Linked DNA regions of Homo sapiens: region 2 is linked to region 1. The links are contacts of gene promoters, found by promoter capture Hi-C in blood cells and fetal thymus (Javierre and others, 2016). All regions are on one chromosome and are shown on one strand. The core of a region is centred on a gene start or on the middle of the fragment in contact, and the rest is flanking DNA. Distances in the headings are between cores, read along the strand shown.

The links. The method cuts DNA at HindIII sites, captures the fragments that hold promoters and counts their contacts. A CHiCAGO score of 5 or more calls a contact.
Region 2: the fragment with the promoter of PPP4R3A here is called in contact with the fragment with the promoter of BTBD7 in region 1 in 1 of 17 cell types (fetal thymus); the score reaches 6.1 in fetal thymus.

Annotation. Positions count from the first base shown.
Region 1 is chr14:93,331,531-93,334,456 of GRCh38, forward strand. BTBD7 (BTB domain containing 7) reads right to left here and starts at 1,506. Exons shown (of 11, transcript NM_001002860.4): 1 at 1,290-1,506. It also overlaps a transcript of UNC79 not described here. The HindIII fragment of the contact is 5,146 bases long and covers 1-2,563 here.
Region 2 is chr14:91,508,810-91,511,735 of GRCh38, forward strand. PPP4R3A (protein phosphatase 4 regulatory subunit 3A) reads right to left here and starts at 1,501. Exons shown (of 15, transcript NM_001366432.2): 1 at 697-1,501. The coding sequence starts at 838. RefSeq lists enhancers at 101-752, 753-1,403, 1,221-1,500 and silencers at 511-560, 811-870, 881-980, 1,561-1,760. The HindIII fragment of the contact is 5,922 bases long and covers 181-2,926 here.

The DNA of each region.
Region 1 (2,926 bases), core at 256-2,755:
AAAGCAATTCATTTCAGCAATCTAAAGGAAACAGATGCTATTAGGGACAAAAGATTGTTAGTTGACCAGACCGGGCGCGGTGGCTCACGCCTGCAATCCCAGTAGTTCGGAAGGACGAGGCGGGCGGATCACCAGAGGTCAGGAGCTCGAGACCAGTCTGGCCAACATGGTGAAACCACGTCTCTATTAAAAATACAAAAACTAGCCGGGCGTGGCAGCGGGCGCCTGTAATCCCAGCTACTTGGGAGGCTGAGACAGGAGAATCGCTTGAACCTGAGAGGCGGAGGTTGCAGTGAGTCGAGATCGCACCACTGTTCTCCAGCCTGGGTGACAGAGCGAGACTCCGTCTCCCCCCCCCCAAAAAGGTTGTTAGTTGAAAAAGCTAAGTAATTCTGTAAAAATGTCTACTTTCTCATTACAGTAAGATGTTTTCGCAGAGTTAACAGTGCTCTGGTGTAGATAACCAAGACTGCTTCTGTAAATTAGGCCTACTCCAGAGTACTTATTATCTGTGCTGGTATGTGAAGACGTGCAATTGTAGTTCACAGGAGAAACAACACTCCTCAGAGTTTCTTGAAAAACGGTGAGAAAGTTCTCACCCTCGGGGTAAAGCTAGCAAACACTGTGCAAATAAGGTACTGAAATATGCACACTTTTTGCCATTCAAGTAGTCCAACAAGCACAGCCTCCTCTTCTTTATCAAACACTCGGTATTGTCTCCCTCCCAACCTGTCAAAGCTCAATTCCAGGTTTATCCCGCAATAGTAACTTACCCGGACAATCTAACTTCCCCTGGGAGTAGCAGTCCTCAGGCCTGCTCCCTTCCCAGACCCCGCCGGCCACTCTCACGCCCACCCCTGGCGGTCGCAACCCCGCACCCGGGTAAACACGCGCCCCCGTCTCGGGAGCGGTTTCTCAGCGTCCTGGGAGCGACGGGTCCCGCCCCTCGGCGCCCGGAGCCCAAAGCCGGCCGGGCTGCCGTCGCGACTCCCTCGGGCCGCTCTCCCCGCCCCGAGCGCCACACCTCGCGCCCCTGCCCCAGGGACGGCGGCGCGCTCCAGCCCGCCCCTCGGAGCGCACAGAGACCGGCCAGTCCGGCGCCGCCGCGCCTCAGCCCCAGACGGACGACTGGCCCCTCCCCGCCCGGCGCCCCAGCGCCTCCCGCGGCGGCTTGGCCCCAGCCCCGGCGCCCCCACGCCTAAGAACAGCCCCTTCCTCTCCCGGACGCCCCGCGCCACACCGGACACAGCCTCGGCTCCACAGCCTCAGAGACACCAAGGGACACTCACCCCGGAGGCTCCTCCCGCCGCTGCTGCTGCCGCTGGGACCGCTGCCGTCGCCTCCGCCGCCGCCGCCACCAGCACCGCCGTCCGCACCGGCGCCAGCACCCCCGGCCATCCTCCTCCCACCGCCGCCGCCGCCGCCCTCTCCTCTCCTGTCAGTGGCTCAGGCTCCGGGACTGCTCCAGGTTCCCCTCGCCGCCATTTTGACTCCTAGACGGAGCAGGAGGGGCTCGGTTCGGCGTGGCCCTGGGGCGCCTGCGCGGCGCTGCGGAGCCGGCCGGAGCCCCCGCCCTCCCCTGCCGTCGTCCCGCTCAGGGTCACGTGGCCCGACGTCGCCGCGCGAGTCGGGCCGCGTGGGGGGGCGGTGCGTTCGCTGGATCCATGGGAGCGGAGTGCGCGCGCATTATTTTTGCTCGTCGGCTGGGAGCCGGGCGTCGGGTCGCTGGGAGTTTGCCTCTTGTGGCAGCATCCTGCTTAGTCCAGCGAATTGTGACACATTATTAAATGTATCAGAATATAAGAACTGTGTCACTACTACGTCACCAGATGGCCATTTCCACGAATTCATGTTTCCGTTCGGCGGCCGGCGTCCCTCGGGTGGTCGCATGCAATGAGTGCATCTTTCTCGAGAACAACTCTTCCGCGGAAAGTCATTGCTGACAGTCCTGGCATTCCGGTGGCTGCTTCTTGGCAGTGAGCACTTGTCTATCGTAAGCACTTGTCTGCATGGTACTTTTACAGGCACCACCTTGCTACTTGTGTAGTAGGTTAAAAAATAATCTTTAAGACACTGAAAAGTTTTCCTTAACAAGATACCCCTGTAAACAAAGGACAAAATTGATGAAAACACACAGTCGCCACGTGGGAGAGCCAAGTCGCTCTTCCCTAGATGCCCCTTGTTTGGGGGTTTGCAATAATTTCAGCGATGCAATAACAAAAATACTGTATTTATGGGGCACTGTCGTTTTCCAGAGAGATCCATGGTTTCATTTGAACGCCAAAGCCACCCTTTGTGGTAGTCAGGATAGGTGTTTTTATTGCTGTTTTACAACCAAGGAGACAGGCTCAGAAATACTAACAAGTAGGCAAGCCAAGATCAGAACCCAGGCATTCTGAACCCAGTGAGGAGGCACCGTTACACCTCCTTTTCCTCTGATAGACATTAGCAACTCTGGGAATTTATTTGAAAGTATTGTATTTGCATTTTCAATCTCTACCCATTGTTTAACAAGTTTTGTGTCACACAGTTTTTTGTTGTTGTTGTTCTGAAACCACCTCTAAGCTTCAAAGGATAAGAGCAATTTGGAATTTTGTGATGTGTTTTTAACCATCTCTTGACCCTCCATTATTTTATGCTTTTCATATTCAGTTGGAGACAATATCATTGTTGTTTTCCTCTGGACTTCCTTCAGATTTGTATTTTCCTCACCCTCATTCTTCATCACCTTACTTCCTTGAAAAGGATAGCTCTTTCCAATTTGTATTACTTCATTTTCTTTACCCATCTCACCCTTTTCACCCTCTTACCCAATCCTTGAAGGTTTGGAGATTGTAGCAGAGATTGTAGCAGTCCCTTGCCTGAAATTCCCCTCTAGCTGGTAAGGGTCACTTCAGTTGAACATACAGCCTCAGGGCGATAGACA
Region 2 (2,926 bases), core at 251-2,750, 1.8 Mb before region 1:
ACACCCATTTAAGCAATCAAAAAAAGCTCATATGATTCCAACTTTGCAAGATGTTTATATAGTAAGCTACACACAAAATTCTGCATTACTATAAAAAAGACAACCAACACTGGTGAACGAAAATCTTCGCAAGGGAAAGCGTTTTCTCTTAGTGTAGAGTTGCCAGATACAGTGTTGCCAAGCTTCAACACGATCAGAAACATGTAGCAAAAAGATGTTTAAAAAGAAAAACAAAAAAAGCACAGCAAAACGTTCTTCAAAGTGTGAAAGGTCCAAGAACTTTCTTAGCTCCAAGCAAAGTTTCATGCCTGCTTTACAGATGGGTGAACTAAGGCAGCAGATCGGATTAATCAGTGTCTTTCTCAAGGTCACTCTAGTGCAAAAGAACAGCACACTCCGGACTCCCTATCTCAGGTCCTCGACCTCTCCACACTCCAGGGCGGCACAGCTCAAACACGCTTGGCTCTCCTCGTACCCAAAATGCCACCAGGCACTCAGAGAAAGGAAACATTTCAAGCGCTCTCCGGGGAGCTCCCGCAAGACTGGGGTACCTGGGGCCCGTCCTCCCCCGAGGTGGCCGCCCTCCCCAGCCGTCCCTCTGTTCTCGTGGAGCGAGCGCCATGCCCCGCAAGAACCAGGGAGGCGGCCCAGGGCCGTGGGGGCTGCGAGGGTCCCGCCGCGCGGGGCTTCACTTACCGTCGCTCTCAGCCCTGACAAGCAGGGACATGCCCTTCAGCCGCTCCACGTAGCCAGACGACACATGCCCGGTGCCCCGGTCGTCCCACTGCCGGTCCTCGTTGAGCGTGTACACCTTCACCCGCCGCCGGGTGTCGGTCATCGTGCCGCCCGGGAACCGGGGCGGGGGCCCCGCCAGTAGACGCCCAGGAAAGGGGCCCTGGAGAGGCGAGGGGCGAGGCGTGAGGGCGCCCGCGAGCGGAGGGCTCCCCGGCCTCACTGCCGCCGCTGGGCGCCGCGGGGCCGCGCCGCCGCCTGCATGGCCCGCTCCAGGGACCGAGCTCTGGGCCGCCGCCTTTCCTCGCCTCCGGCTCCCCGGCGCTATTGTCCAGGCCTGGCGAGCCCGGCGCCCGGCAGCCCCGAGGGGGCCGCGCAGCGCTTCGTAGCCTCCCGCCCCGCAGCGCTAGGAACTCGGGGCTCCCGTCACTGCCCTGCTCCCGCCTCCGCCATGATCTCCGCGAAGCAGCTTCCCGCGCCGCCGCCGCCTCCTCAGGCCGCCGCCGCCGCCGCCATATTTTCCTTCCTTATACCTGGCCCTGCCACCGCGGCCAGTGGCTCCCTTCCGCTCCCCCTGTTTTAAACGTCAGAAGCCGACAGGCGCCTGATCCTGCTGCAACTGCTACCACTGCCCGGGAGACTCTGAGGGCCCCCGGCCGCCCAAGCGACCCGGACTAGTGGAAGTCGGTTTCCCTCCGCCGCCGTCTCTTCCGTCTTCCTCACACAGCCAAAACCGCCGCCATCTTGGTTCGCCCCTCAAAAGCGGCGCGCGGGGCCACCCAGGGAGCAGCTGCAGGGGCGGCTCGTAGCCCCACCATTTAAAGAGACAGCAGCGAGACCGGGAGCCTTACTGCGGCGGAGGCTTCCGACGGAGGCGGGAGGCGGGCGCGGAGTTGCCGAGGTGGCGGGAGCGCAGGGAGCGGAGGAGGCGGGACGCAGATTGCGCCGGTGACAGCCCGAGGCTCCCTCCCGCCTCCTTGCACGCACCGTCGTGCGAGCGCTGGGCGGTGTGTGCGTCCGTCGCGCCCTGTGTTCGTCATCAGCCCCGCTCCAGGATGCACGAGGGGCGTGGATACGTTTGCGGCCTCTGCCCGCGGGCCCCGGCGCTTCGGCCTCGCCTCCGCCCGCCGCCACCTTCCCTTGTTCCTGCCCCGTCCCTGCCTCTGCCCCTGCCCCTGGCCTGCGGACGCCGGGCAGCGTGGGCCTGGGCCCCTACCCGCTTCCGAGAGCGTTTTCCCGGGGCCGCCTTTATGGCTGAGTCGGGCGCTCGGGACCCACCCGGCGCCTTGCGGACTTGAGGGAATGAAATGGAAACGCTTCCGGGGAAGGTCGCGGGTGTGGGCGCCTAGGTCGGCGCAGCCTTGGGAGCCGCCGTGGGTCGCGGACTGGCGTGGCCAGTGTGGAAACTTGGGACTGTTTGCGATTTCTGGGCGTGGGACCGAGTTCCAAGTGACAATTCTAAAACTTCACCTTACAGCCTAGGCAAGCCCCAAGTGCTCCATTCCTTCATCCCTATCAGAACTGTCTGCCAGCCTTTCTTGTCGGAAAAGGAACTTAAGGCGCTCACAAAAACAAATGCGACACTGTGTAATCGGGAGGAGTAATTCTCAGCATTAGGTAGTCCTGTGTTTTGAAGACCTACTTGATGTCAAGTATTGTTGATCTTCACAAAGGAATATCATTCTCGTTCCTATCATGCAGCTCATATGCCACCATTTTGGTGGCTTTTACCATTTGCCAGGCCTTGCCAGGTCGGGCTTGTCCGCTCGGAATATAATGCAGCCACACACATAACTTTAAATTTTGCAGTAGCCACAAAAAGTACGAAGAAACTGGTGAAATTAGTGTTAACGTTTTAGTGCGGTATTTTCAAAAGTTATTTCAATAATCAAATTACTAATGAGATATACGTACAATGTCTTAAAAATGTGATATATTTTGTCCTTCCAGCAAGTCTCTGTTGGGATACTAAATTTTCATCAGAAATATCTACGTTTAGATTTTATTGAAAAAAAATTTTTTTTGAGACAGGGTCTCTCTGTCACCCATCCTGAAGTGCAGTGGCTCAGTCTCAGCTCACTGCAGCTTCAACCTCCTGGGCTGAAGCGATTCTCCCATCTCAGCCTCCCAAGTAGCTGGGACCACAGGTGCGCAGCACCACTGCCAGTTAATTAATTAAATTTGTTATTATTTT